Linked DNA regions of Homo sapiens: region 2 is linked to region 1. The links are contacts of gene promoters, found by promoter capture Hi-C in blood cells and fetal thymus (Javierre and others, 2016). All regions are on one chromosome and are shown on one strand. The core of a region is centred on a gene start or on the middle of the fragment in contact, and the rest is flanking DNA. Distances in the headings are between cores, read along the strand shown. Region 1 holds the start of LRIT1 (leucine rich repeat, Ig-like and transmembrane domains 1). Region 2 overlaps CCSER2 (coiled-coil serine rich protein 2).

Region 1 (7,111 bases), core at 1,810-4,309:
CCATGCGATCGATGATCAAGTTGTTTAAGAGCCAGGACTTGGCAGCCCCACAGCTGGATTCACACCTGGGCTCTTTGCTTGCTGGCTGTGTGTCCTTGAGTACATTAGGTAACCTCTCTTTTCCTCAGTTTTGCCATCAAATAGACCCCACAAGGTGGTTATGGGGTTTAAATGAGGTAATGCATGTGGAAGCCCAGCACATTGCCTGCCACCCTGCATGAGCCCAAGGGTATGGATCACTGTCATCAATGTTTGCATCTCAGCACTGCAAGTAGATCGGGTCAGTCTTATCAGCTCTTCTACCCAAACCACGACTTCTTAAACCTTATTCCATTAAGTTTGAGACTAAAGCAGAGGATAGAGAGATAATAGGAGGCAGTCCCTGCCCTCAAGAAGCCTACATTTCAGGGCTATGTTTTATACTACGTAAACTGAAAACAAAATCCTAAGCCCCCCAGCCACTGAACAGGCCCTTCTAAGGGAGGTTGTTCTCTTGTAATAGCATAACCTACTGGTGATATCAGGCTTTCCTGGAGGTGCACACACATATCACCAGCATCCCTCAGCATAAGTCTATGCTCCACTTAAAGGCAGCTGGGCTGGGCTTGTTTTTTCTTGTAAACAGTGTCCACAAACAGCACGGATATTCTTACTCACTCCTTTTGAGCAAATATACATGGAACTCTTACTAAGTGATGAGCAATTCAGAAGAGAATCAGCCTCATAGCCCCTGTCTCCATACAGTGTGTAATCTAGCTCAGGAAGAAAGAGCATTTACAGCAATGATATTTCCAGATACTACAATAGGTTCGGGCAGGTGTGATAGCTCATGCTTGTAGTCCCAGCTACTCAGAAGGCTGAGGTGGGAAGGTGGCTTGAGCCTAGGAGTTGGAAGCTACAGTGAGCTATGATTGTGCCACTGCACTCCAGCCTGGGTGACAGAGCAAGACCCTGTCTCAAAAAAAGTAATACAGGTTTGGGTATTGCAAGGAGGAAGGTCTGGATGTAGGTGAGAGAAAGACAGGTGATTGGAAAACTTATCTTGAACGGGAGAGAAAACGGTAAAAGGGGCATTTAAAGGAAACCATAAGAACTCAATGCAAGCCTACACCACAGCTCAAACCTCCAGCACAACTCCGGGTGGGGTAAAACCAGAGGCAAACTGGGACAAACAGCATGGGCACAAATCCATTCAGATGCATAGCCCAGCTCCTCCCAGGCAACCCCAGTGCCCACAGGCACACACTTCACGATACAACAGCTCAGACATAAAGGCTGGGCTCTCTGAGAGGCCCAGGTTAGAGAGGGATCTGAGGAAGGCTTCTGACATGCAGAACGAGCTTTGGTCTAACTGCACAGTCTGTGCCCATAGCCACAGGGGACCTCAGGGCCCGCTACCACCTTTCATGGCCTCATAGGACCCTCCATGCAGATGGGCTGGTGCATGTTAGCCATGGGATAGTCAGGCGGGTAGAACCAAGAGCTCTGGCTTCAGAGAAGGGAATGCCCACTGACTTACATTAGCGGCCCTAGAAACTCATTTTCCATCTTAAGATTAACTCTGCTGCCTGGAACTTACCACTGGTCCCTGCCCATGGCAGCATCACCAGATAAGTGTTCTGAAAACTGAATCGGAATGCCTGGGTTCCAGGACCGGTTTTGTCAATGATGCTGTGTGGCTTTCAGCCCTATGCCTTCTACGGGTGGTGGGAGGCTTTTTGTCACTCCAGTGACACTGCCCAGGCTGGGAACAGCAGGCTGTTCAGGGCTCAGCCTGGCTTCTACTGGGGACAGGACCCTTACACTTCATATGAGTTGATGCCTTGGACACTTGGGCTACAGTGGAGCTCATTCTGGTTCTCAGATCATTTGAGGTGTCTTTTCTTAGTGGTTCTTCTCCATTCTCCTCTCATCCCCCAATCAACTCGACATTCATTGCCAAGATTATTAAAAGGGTAGCTCCAATAACATTGTTCCCAGGATCAGAAACCATCAGTGGCTCAGAAACCATGCAGAGGTCATTAATGGATAAGCTAAAGAAGTTGGAGAAAAGATGATTTAAACGTTGCTAAAGAAAAGAAGAAAATGAGCAGTAGTGGAAGAGCAAGGGTCCACAAGCCACAGTGGCATGGGAATGTCCCATGAAAGGAGAGGAGGAGAGAATGGAGGTGCTCTGAGGGATCAGACAGAGGGTGGGGAAAGTCAAGGAAAAGGCTGGGGATGGAAGGAAGCATGCTTGTCATGGGATGGGCACTCCTGGCTTTTGGAGCACTCATAAAAAGGTATTGAGGCTGAGGCTCCTGGGATCTGGCCAGCGAAGATGGAGAGGAGGAAGAGAATGAGAGGCAAGTGGTCCCATCATGGGTGGGGTTGTAGGAAATGCCTGGGATATGATTGAATATTGTAGAGAGGTCAGGCAAGAGAGTGCAAGTGGCCTGGGAAAGAAGGGGCTGGGGAAATATAGAAAAGAAGAGGGAATAGAAAAAATAAAAGAGAAGAAAAAGCAGTAAGGGAGGAGATTTCCTGGACCTTTAAGGAGGGCTCTTCACCAGGAGCCTGGAGGAGGACTTAGGAAGGACTTCTTAGAACTGACATACTTGTGCCTCACCCTCGGGCCCATGTGTATAGATACCTGGTACCTCTCGAATAGAGTCACCCCCTTGCCTGCTGGAAAACAATGCAGCACAGTCCACCCCATAGGATCCCTGGTCCTCAAGGGCCAAGGGAGATGAAGACCTCACCCAGGGCCCCAGCTCCAACTCCTCCCAACCCAGCCTAGCTGGCAAAGCAATGGAGGCTGGGCTGCCCGTCCCACGCACCCGGTACCATACCTGGCCTTGCTGCCATCACCCATGATATGGAGGCTGCAGCTGCATTGAGAGGGGCAGAAGCCCCGGGCCTGGGGGGGCCACGCAAGGGCCAAGAGCCAGAGCATGCCTAATGCCACCCTCATGGCTCCTGGCTCCTCTCTGGCCCAGGCAGGGGCCTGTCCCTGGACCGCTCCGTCCCACCGGCCCAGCAAGCTCAGCAGCTGCCCACTTGCTCGCCAGCCCCTTACACCCCCTCCTGAGGCCATCGGATAAACATGGACAGACTGGGGATTAGGGAGGGGAGTCCCAGCCGCAGCACTCAGAGGCTTATTGCTTTCTGAATCACTCAGTCCTGAGGGTAGGGGCGGGGGACCCCCTTCCATAGCAATATCCACAGGCCCAGAGAGGCCAGGGCAGGGCACAGCAAAGCAAGACAAGTAGGCAGCTTTCCAGAGGCGAGCAGCCATGGGACTGTCATCTGCAAAGCATCCCATCCCAACAAGGCCACGGACAACACAGACCCCACTGGAGTGCCAGGGAAGATGGAGAAAGAACCCCCGCCTCAGTAAGGGCCTTTGGAAATTCTTTCCTGTGACACTGTCTCATAGCAAAAAAGCAGTGAAATGAAGCAACTCTTCCTGATGGTGCTAAAGGCATTGGAAGGAGGCTAAGCTCTGGACCCAGGCTTCCTGGGGTCAAATCCCAGCTGCTCCATTAAGGGGCTGTGACCTTGGGTGAGTCACATTATCTCTTGGCCTCTGTGTCCTTATCTGACAAAGAGAAATAAAGTTACTTCATGCAGGGTGTTTGTGAAAATCAAACTCAAATTCCAAGGCCTTGACAGCCTGTGGGAACAGAAGCTCTCTCACAAGTTGTAAGTGCCCAGTTTCACTGGTACTTATAAGACCCTACTTACAGAAGAACTGGACAGATTCAGATATTTTGGGGAGACATCAGAGGTGTCTCTCATGAGCCCACAAACTGTCCCAGGCTGCCAGGCAAACAGCTGCCTGCCTTGAGTGCCCCATGGATATGGACTCAACACACTACTATTTCAGCTGAGCCCTTCTGGGCATTGCTACGAATGCCAAAGGTGGAGATGTCTCCACATAAGGGACAAGGGCACCCCTCTCCTCAAGGTGCCCTACTCCAAGGAGGGCCCCAGAGAGGTAGCTCAGAGAGGTCTTAGAGAAGGCACTTTCAGGTTTTTTTGGAGACAGGACCCCAACCTCTAATAAGGGCCTTTGGAAATTCTCCATCCATAAAGCTTTGTTTTGCTTTATAGGGACAGGGTTGCTCTGTCACTCAGAGTGGAGTGCAATGGTGTAATCATAGCTCACTGTAGCCCCGAACTCCTGAGCTCAAGCCATCCTCCTGCCTCAGCCTCGCAAGTAGCTGGAACTGCAGGCAACCACCACCATGTTTGGCTATTTTTAAAAAATTATTTTTTGCAGTCAGGGTCTTGCCATGTTGCCCAGGATGGTCTCAAACTCCTGGCCTCAAGCGATCCTCCTACCTCAGTCTCCCAAAGTGCTGGGATTACAGGCCTGAGCCACTGCACCCAGACTAATTTCAATTTTTACTTATTCTCTCCTAACCCTATCTCGCCCCACCATATCTACTCAAGATGCCAGTGGGGACTGACCAGGGATGATTCCCAGCAGTAGACACTCAGTCGACTCATTCATTCATTCTTCACATTTGACCCTGAGGCATTGTTCTCTGGTCCAGCATGCCCTACCTATGTTGTTTGGCTTTTCTAGAAGGTTCCCCAGTCCTTCATGCCTGTGGCTCCAGGCAGGCCTAGACCAGTGAGGTATGACCTGCAAAGATATCTGGGGCCCCAGTGCACACATAAAATGCCTAGCTCGGAGCCAGGTCTGTTTCAACAATACTGGCTTCTCATTCTTTCCTTCCTTCCAATGCAGCCAGTAGGATTTTCTCAGTGCTTCCCAGCTATACTTCCACCTCCCCAAACCCAGCCGTCAGCTTGCCTGTTCCCACATCTCTGCTTCTTCCTCCTTGTGTCTTTTGCCCAAATGAACTTTACCCTTTAATCTTGGCCTTGCCCTGCTTTATCTCCTCTCATGAAGGCTTTTGTGATCTCGAAGGCATGAAAAAAGGACTGACATATGTATTAACCAACACCATAAGGTAGAAATTGAGACAGAAGGCCAGGCAGGGTGGCTCATGACTGTTATCCCAGCATTTTGGGAGTCCAAGGCCAGCAGATCACCTGAGGTCGGGAGTTCAAGACCAGCCTGACCAACATGGAGAAACCCTGTCTCTAATAAAAATACAAAATTAGCCGAGCATGGTGGCACATGCCTGTAATCCCAGCTACTCGGGAGGCTGAGGCAGGAGAATAGCTTGAACTGGGGAGGTAGAGGTTGCGTGAGCCGAGATTGCGCCATTGCACTCCAGCCTGGGCGACAGAGCGAGACTCCATCTCAAAAACAAACAAAAAAACAAAAAAGAAATTGAGAAAGAACAGGGAACGCTCTGGAGGGCGCAGCCATAAGCTCAGCCCTGCAGAGGGATTAGGCTTGGATGTAAGTGAGGACTCATGAGAGGAAAGGCCTGGGAAGTGGGCATTCCTGGAACAGAGTGGGTTGCTCTACCAGGTGAGTCAGAAGATGCCATTGAAAAATGCCTGAGCCTGAGGAATAGGAGATCGGCTTTTGTTCCAGCTCCATCCATAAATTACTGCATGGCCTCAGGCAGATTCTTAACTGTTTTTAGCCACAGTTTCCTCATCTAAAATGGAAAGGATAATGGTATCTAACTCATGGAGTTGTTGTAGGACTCATCAGAAGATCCCCTAGCACAGGGCCTGACCTCACTCAATATTAGCTATGTTGCTGATAGTGCTCTGGAGCTTGGTTTCTTTATCTGAAAATGAACTAAGTTGTCCTAGATCAGTATTTCCTGGTGTAAATTTTATCATGAGCCAGAGCATAACAGTGCATAAAGAGCCAGTGTATCAAGAAGTCATTTGTAGCAGCCAAAGCTCTTAGTGGGGCCGGCAAGGCTGGGCGGGTTCGGGGTCGGAGACTGACAAGACGGCAGGCAGCCCCTCTGTTCTAAGACAGTGTCCTAGGACATTTTTTATGCTCAGGTGCTCTATGGGAGACAGGAAATGCAGCCCTGAGGTTTATATTCGTGATATCTAACCAGGACTTATATAAAGGCCACAGACAAAAGACATTGACATTGCAGAAAAGTAAACGGAAGAGTCCAGTGGTCCCACTCCAAGGCGCATAACTAGTTAGTGGCAGATTCAGAACCAGAACCCCAACCCCATTTTCTGGTCCCAGATGGGGTTCTTCCTCTGACAGCAGGCGACTTCCCAAGCCTCATCCTTTCCCCAGCGCTTTGGAGTATACTCATGTGAGCCTGAGGACACACACACAGGCACCAGGCTTGTTGGGAACAGCTGCGGCTCAAATCCCTCCTCCTGCTCCCCTCCCCTGGTTATGCAACTCTTTTCCAATTAGGCTCTCAGCCACACACCATTTGGATTCCCCGACCTTAATCCTGTGCAATGGGGCTGAAATGAATGAGACAGGGCTCCATTCTGGCTTCACAAAGGCTGCATTGTCCAACTCGTGAATGGGTTCCTTCTGCTTGGGCCAAGAGGACCATTTGCAGCGGGGAGGCATCCAGAAACAGCCCAAGGTCCAACATAATAACCTGCATGTGCCTCCACGCACATGGGATGGCCCTTTAAAAGGGAGGGCCTGGCTGTGGGAAGCCAGAGACAGCTGGGCCACTGGCAGTGAGGGAGAGTGAGGATGGCAGAGACCAGTGCCCTGCCCACTGGCTTCGGGGAGCTCGAGGTGCTGGCTGTGGGGATGGTGCTACTGGTGGAAGGTGAGCCAGGCAGAACCTGGGGTGCAGCGGGGGCCCAGTGGGTTCTGAGGACCCAGGCCACCAGTGTGGAGCTGGCAAGGAGAGGAGAGGTCCCCAAACCCAGCTGGGTGTCCGGTCCCATTGGCTGCCTTCCCCTCTGTGCCCGGACTCGGGGGGTGTTCTGACAATTGAACCTGTGAGGTGCAGCACACTGCCCGCTGGGAGCAGAGAGGAAGCCAGGCAAGGGTCAGGGAGGGAGGGACTTTGAAAGGGGACATCTGCCCAGGAGATGATCAAGAGCCAGGCTTTAGGACTTTTCATGTCCCTCCAGCCGGGAGAAAATTTAATCCACTCCTTGGAAATCCTGCTGAGAATCCCACATAAGATCAGTCCCCCAAAAGGCTCTGGGGACAGACAGCTCTGCCTCCTGCTCTTGTGTGGCTGGAACC
Region 2 (7,111 bases), core at 2,992-5,491, 240 kb after region 1:
CATTCAACTCCAACCTATGTTTGCATGCAAACCTTCATAAAAATACGTTGACAGTATAAAGTGTTGAATTCAAAATATTCTGATTTAAAATCAGATTGCAGCGCTCTGAGAATTAACTGAAAGGCATAGAAGTTTAACTATTCAAACCTTACTAAAAAATGCTAAGAATGCCTGTTTATCTTTACTACAATACCATAGTTAAATAATAGTTCAGATACATTTCTCATTGACTCTTCAGAATAATCTTGGGAAATTGCTAGTGTAGAATTTCCTTTATGGGAGACACATTAGACAGTGGAACTCAGGTTAAGTGGGCTAGCAGTATAGTATATTTGAAAAACCAAGACAGACCTGAGTTCAGATCCTGACTTTGAAATTTATAGCCATGTTCTCTGAAGGGAGTTCTATAATCTCTCCTAAGCCCCTTCTGTTAGAGGATAATAAAAGTAGTACTGGGCTGGGCACGGTGGCTCATACCTATAATCCCAGCACTTTAGGAGGCCGAGGCAGGCAGATCACCTGAGGTCAGGAGTTCGAGACCAGCCTGGCCAACATGGTGAAACCCTGTCTCTACTAAAAATACAAAAATTAGCTGGGCATGGTGGCACATGCCTGTAGTCTCAGCTACTCAGGAGGCTGAGACAGGAGAATCACTTGAACCCGTGAGGCCGAGGTTGCAGTGAGCCAAGATCGCGTGCCACTGCACTCCAGCCTGGGCAACAGAGCAAGACTCCATCTCAAAAAAAAAAAAAAAAAAAAAAAAAGTAGTACTGACCATATAGGGTTATGATAGTTATGTTGTGATAGAACTACATAGTAAACTACTTAATGCCTGGTCCATGGATACATGATGAATAGCAACTCTTATATAAGCCCTAAATCACCCAGTGTAAATCAGTGCATATCTTATGATGTTTTAAGTTCCGAGTAAAAGTCCCTAACTAAAAGTGATTTTAAAAATAAAAACAGTTGTAAACTCAACAAGAAATTATGTAGGTCCCATCCATTTCAGTGGTTTCTTATTGGTCATTTGGCTGATTGATTAGGTTCCAGATCAGCTTTTTTGGAATCCTGTTGGCTGTCCATTCATGGTCACAAGATGTCTGTTGCTCTGTGTGTCACATTCTCACACAGTAATACCCAAGGATAGGTTAAGGGCCTATGATCTCCAGTGTCTGTTTTTAAAATCAACAAACCCTTTCTCAGATACCCTAGACTTTCCTGTTTGATTGGCTAGATTTGAGTTACTTGTCCCTTCCTAAGCATAGAGGAATGGGATTAATCACATTGGTTCAGACTAATTAAGTTCTAGCTCCTTGGGGTAAGAGATTAGGACACATTTCCCCAAATGTGGGACCAAATAGAAGGTGAGCATCTGTACAGTCTGTCAGCAATAAAGAAGGCAGATGGTGAGAAAATGATTTGGTTAGTCATTTTATATATGTTGACATGTCACTAGAAACTAGACTTTTCCAAATTTTGGAAAACTCATATATTTGCCAAATATTATTTTTCATGTGTGAGCATATAGACCACAGAAAATAAATCATAGACAGTCTGCTACTTAGGATTTTTTGATTATATGATGGTACAAAAGTGATACTCATTCAGTAAGCTCCTCAACTTATGACGGAATTATGTCCTGATAAACCCATTATAGGTTGAAAATAATCCCAAATCAAAAGTGTGTTTTTAGTAATATTATGAGTTTATCCAGGTGTGACCCCATTATAAATCAAAGAGCACCTGAATTTCTGGAATTGCAATAGGATGGAATAAGTAAAGTGTTTTCGTTACGATAGTGTTTTTAAATTATCTTTTCTGTTCCTCATATACCCCTCATATATGTTAAAAGTTGATCCTATTACAGTGAATTCCAAGAGACTGTAAATACTTGATTATATATTGAATTTGGGGGGTTATTTTGGAGTTAGAGTCTCACTCTGTCACCCAGGATGGAGTGCGGTGGTGCAATCTCAGCACACTGTGGCCTCAACCTCCCAAGCTCAGGTGATCCTCTCACTCAACCTCCCGGGTAGCTGGGACTACAGGCACATGCTACCATGCCTGGCTGTTTTTGTTGTGTGTTTTTTGTAGATACAGGGTTTTGCCTTGTTGCCCAGGCTGGTCTGGAACCCCTGGGCCCAAGCAATCCGCCAGCCACAGCCTCCCAAAGTACTGGGAGTACAGGTGTGAGCTACTGCACCCAGCCTATATTGAATTTTGTTTCAGTGACTGTCTCATTTGTTAGGAATGGGAAATATGTCTCTATGATAGACATTTTTGTTTTTAGATTTTATTTTGTATAAGGAAATTGTAATGATCTGATTGCAGTTAAGAAAAATTTTGAATATGGGTAAATATTATTAAAGTAGAAATGTATCATTTTAACCTGATGGAATAATCAAGAATTTTTTAGTTTCCTATGAGAAAGTATATCTACCTCCAGTGAGGTTGTTTAACAAATAATGTGGTTATTTTCTAGCTTGTCACTAAGGGTGAATTCTCTCTCTTTTTTTTTTTTTTTTTTTTTTTTTTTGAAATGGTGTCTCCCTCTGTCACCCAGGCTGGAGTGCAGTGGTGCAATCTGTGCTCACTGCAAGCTCTGCTTCCGGGTTCATGCCATTCTCCTGCCTCAGCCTCCGGAGTAGCTGGGACTACAGGTGCCCGCCACCACATCCGGCAAATTTTTTGTATTTTTAGTAGAGATGAGGTTTCACTGTGTTAGCCAGGATGGTCTGCTTCTCCTGACCTCGTGATCCGCCCGCCTCGGCCTCCCAAAGTGCTGGGATTACAGGCGTGAGCCACCGTGCCTGGCCGGGAGAATTCTTTTTATCAGTATTTTCATGATCTTTTTTGAAAGTGATGATTATTTGGGAAAGTTACTTTGTGTTATATAAATGAGTGTGCTTTGAGTGGAATCGTGTGGAGAAATCATTTGTGAACAGAAATGGTCAGATGGATCTTGTCAAAGGGCTGACACTCTTCAAAATATTTCAGTCCAGTAAAGTCAATACATCATGAAAGAGGCTTCATCACACTGCACATGAGAACAGACATCCTGACAAGTGGACTGGTGGTATTCAATGTCCAGCAGAGTCCCATTAAAATATGGATTTAAGAAACTGAGCTTTAGTGACTGTAGTACCATGACAGTTTAGGGAAATACTGTAAATTCTGCAGTTGTATTCTTTATATACTGAATATCCCTATATATTCTACATCCATATACTTAACTCTTTATATTGATATACATAAAATCATATATTGTATGTTTTATGGACAATATAAGAGATTGCCAAGGGTAATTTAGATTATTCAAAATTCTAACCTTACAGGCTGACTCTCAAACCCACTCCCTGAATAAGATGAGAGACCACTGAATAGACCTTATTGTTGGCTGTGATAACATTTTTTCTTCAAAAAAGTAGCCAGAACTATTTTGCCATGTGTGACTTTTTTGTTGATTTGGTTACATACCCCCTAAAAGAGCCCTGATTACCTCCTGTCATGGCTGTTAATTTTTTTTATAGGTAATTTAGTTTTGCTTGTCTCTTAGGTGTTTTATGTGTTTTCCTAAAGTTTCTCTTGTGTGTCTTGGTGTGTATATGCAGAATTAAACCAATGTAAAAATTTTGTGTTTTTGTTTAGGCAACTCAGCATATCTGCCACCAAAAATGTAAAGAGGAAAAATGCACTTATGCTGATAAATATACCCAAACACCCTGGAGACGAATTCCTGTAAGTAACATTTGCTCTTAGCCTCCTCTCCAGTCATTTGCTATTTTGATGTTTTATTTCACTCTTTTTACAGCAATCTCTAATGATTTTGAATCTGTCATGGCTGTTAATTTTTTTGTAGGTAATTTATTTTTGCTTGTCTCTTAGGTGTTTATGTGTTTTCCTAAAGCTTCTCTTGTGTGTCTTATGTAAGTGAATGTGCATTTTAATAGCTTTTTCATTCTACATACTATAGTTCATTTTATTTGCGTGTCTACTCTCCTCTTATTGCATGATTTATGAGAGTAGTTCCACATGCCTTAAAGGAAATAGCAGTCCTGTATGCAGTCATCCCACTTTAGCAGCATATGACACTTTGAAAATATATGATTTAGCATATTCCTTTTTTGTTAAAACTTTTCAAATATGTTTATTATAATTACTCAAATGTTGAGGGTGTTAGGAAATATAAATGCACGAAGATACAGACAATAAAAGTTATGTTTTAGGCAGAACTAGGGAATGGTTTATTTTAAATAGGAAGTAACTATGTATTCCATGCTTATTTGTTTTTCAAAAATGTTATATCTCAAAACATGTTTAGTGCTAAAAATACTCTATCATTTAATCTGAGTTCTCAGAACTTAGTGCAGGATGTGTGTGAGCCAGAGAATTATCATATGGACATTAGTCATTCTGCTGTTGTTTGGGGCCAGGTAGTAGACATTTCTTGTTAAGAGATTGCCTAATAAGTCAGCCTTGACTCTTTTGCCTTATATTTAGGAGTGGAATCCTAGTAACACAAAGGAACAGAGAAATATAATGGCTAATATAATCAGCAATTCAGTTTATAAAGCTTAGCCATAAGCCTTTAAAGTTTATAAAAGAGTTTTGTTTCTTTTCATCTAACAAGTATTTTTTTTGTGCTCTGTATAAGATACAATGGTAGGAATTAATTTATTCAACAAAAGTTTGATGATCCCCTTTCATCCCAGATATTTGGCTTTCAAACTAGAAGTGGGGAATTAGGGAAGGAAATACAGACAAATAAGGATTCCTCTGTTTATAAGTACTTCTTAAGAAATTGGGAATGCATTGATGTAGTTAAAGTGCTGTGTAAGTCTATAAGGTTCAAAGGATGTGGGAAAGTCTAGTTGAAAGAATCAAGGAGCTTGGTGAAGAAAATGAAGGTTGTGTTTGAATCATAGAAAGCAAAAGATACCAACAGAAAAAGATGATGTGATATTATTTAATGTCAAAGGCGGTGGAAGCTCATCTGTTTGCAGACAGTTGTTTAATAGAAGACCATGCCCCTTGCTTCTAGATGGAAGTTTGGGCTTTCCAGGTGTCTCCATTTACCCCATAGGGATGTTATGCCTTATAATTGTACTACTAAGAAGACTGGTGATTCCATTAAGCATGATAAGTTCCATTTTGCCATCCTCATGGAAGTCTTTATACCACCTCTGGCTCCTTCAGCCTCACTGTTCTGGAAACTGGATGTTAGTCTTCCTCCTCATCAGACAAAAGTAACTATAAAAAAAGTAACTATAAAAGTTACTATAGGAATCATCTGGCCAAATACCTTTGTTTTGTAGATAAGGTAGCAAAAGCTGGGGAGATTAACTGGCATAGCAAAGTTCCCATAATTAATAAGTGGCTGAGCTAGTACTATAACTTAGGACTCTTGACTGCTAGTTCTAGGTTCTTTTCCCCAAAAGCACATTGAAGAGCCTTTGAAGGAGAGTGGTTTGCTGCCAACAGCAGCAGAGCAAAAATTTGAATGTATTGAGATTTGTCCAAGGGGATTTTGTGTCACTTAATGGCTGCAAATAAGATCTCTGAAGTAGAGAATCAACAGGAAATAAGAGGAAGAAATATAGTAGTAGAAAAGGGGAAAGGAGGAAAAGCAGATATTCACTTGCTTATTCAGCAGATATTTATGTGCCTACTTCATGCCAGGCACTGTATTAATTTGGATGTGTAAATATAAAGAAGAATATAAAAATACATGTGTAAATATAAAGTTCCATCCCTCAAGATGCTTGTAGAAACCTCCAGTGTGCTTAAATGATAGTAAGCTCACTCTTTTTCTGCATGTGAAGAAGCTAAGACTAAGAAGTGACTTATGCAAGTGTTTACACAACTTGTATACAGCAGTCTTATTTTAGTTGCTTTTCTTTTGAATGGTTGCAGGAGGGTGAGGGGGCTAGAAGGAATAGAGAAGAGAAAAGGATCATAGCTCTGGGAAGGGAGGACAGAGGCTTAATCTTAGTGAGAGATCACAATAAGGACTTAACTTCCCTGAGAGGAAAAAAAACAGGTGCCCAGGTTTGCACTGCATGGTAGAAGACTTAGCAGTATACTGTGATAATCCATAGAAACATACTTGTATTTTAAAAGTTATTTAATTTATTTTGAGACAGGGTCTTGGTCTGTCACCCAGGCTAGAGTGCAATGGTGCAATTATGGTCCACTATAGCCTTGACCTCCTGGGCTCAAGTGATCCTCCTGCCTCAGCCTCCCAAGTATCTGGGACCACAGGTGTGCACCACCATGCCTGGCTAATTTTTTTATTTTTTGTAGAGACAGGGGTCTCACACTCCTGGGCTCAGGTGATCTTTTTGCCTCAGCCTCCCCAAATGCTGGGATTACAGACATGAGCCACCATGCCTGACCACATACTTGTATTTTAAATTACTGAGAAAAAAGTATTTTTGGTTGAAAAGGCATAGTTTCAGTAAGAGTGTAATAAGAAAACTCCTCTACAACCAAGTTAGTTTCAATCTAATGTGAGTACAAAGAAATCTTTTGACATATTAAATTATGTAAGTCATTTTCTCAATAGAAATAATAAAATTCAATACCTCTCATTAAAAGCATGAAAAAATAGAATACTAAGAATACTTTATGAGTAACCTGAGGCCAAAATATGTACGTTTAAAAGAGAAGTACTGTAAAGTGGATTTTTCCTTTCCTATTTTTATTGAGAGATAACGATATATTTATTCTATAGCAAATATAGAAAATAGAGAAGCAAAACAACTTAAGAAAAATTTAAAGTACTTAAATCATACAAGCCAATGACAGTCATTGTTAACATTTTATATATGGTCTTCCAGCCTTGTTTGGTGTTGTGTGTATATGTGTATGTGCCATCTGTCATCTCTATTTAGATGGGATTATGTTGTATATGTGGCATTTTAACCTACGTAGGTAGTGGTGATGGTGGTTGCTATTAATATTTGGTTTGATTTTTTTACTAAACCAAAATGAAGAAATGCATTACCTTTAATCAAGTTAAGGAATTAATTCCTTTACTGGATGGTCTTTGTAAGGTTCTTGAAATAAATTACTACAGTTTTTTTTCTGAAAGGTTTATACAGGCTTA

What was found. The method cuts DNA at HindIII sites, captures the fragments that hold promoters and counts their contacts. A CHiCAGO score of 5 or more calls a contact.
Region 2: a contact is called between a fragment that was not itself captured here and the fragment with the promoter of LRIT1 in region 1, in 1 of 17 cell types (activated CD4 T cells). The highest score is 5.5, in activated CD4 T cells.

What each region holds. Positions count from the first base shown.
Region 1 is chr10:84,238,487-84,245,597 of GRCh38, forward strand. It overlaps LRIT1 (leucine rich repeat, Ig-like and transmembrane domains 1), which reads right to left and starts at 3,060. Exons shown (of 4, transcript NM_015613.3): 1 at 2,832-3,060. The coding sequence starts at 2,953. It overlaps RGR (retinal G protein coupled receptor), which reads left to right and starts at 6,567. Exons shown (of 7, transcript NM_001012720.2): 1 at 6,567-6,683. The coding sequence starts at 6,605. RefSeq lists an enhancer at 6,713-7,111. The HindIII fragment of the contact is 15,150 bases long and covers 1-4,075 here.
Region 2 is chr10:84,473,924-84,481,034 of GRCh38, forward strand. CCSER2 (coiled-coil serine rich protein 2) reads left to right here. Exons shown (of 10, transcript NM_001284240.2): 9 at 3,652-3,741. Among named protein-coding and RNA genes, the nearest start is that of CCSER2, 150 kb to the left of the region's middle. The HindIII fragment of the contact is 666 bases long and covers 3,909-4,574 here.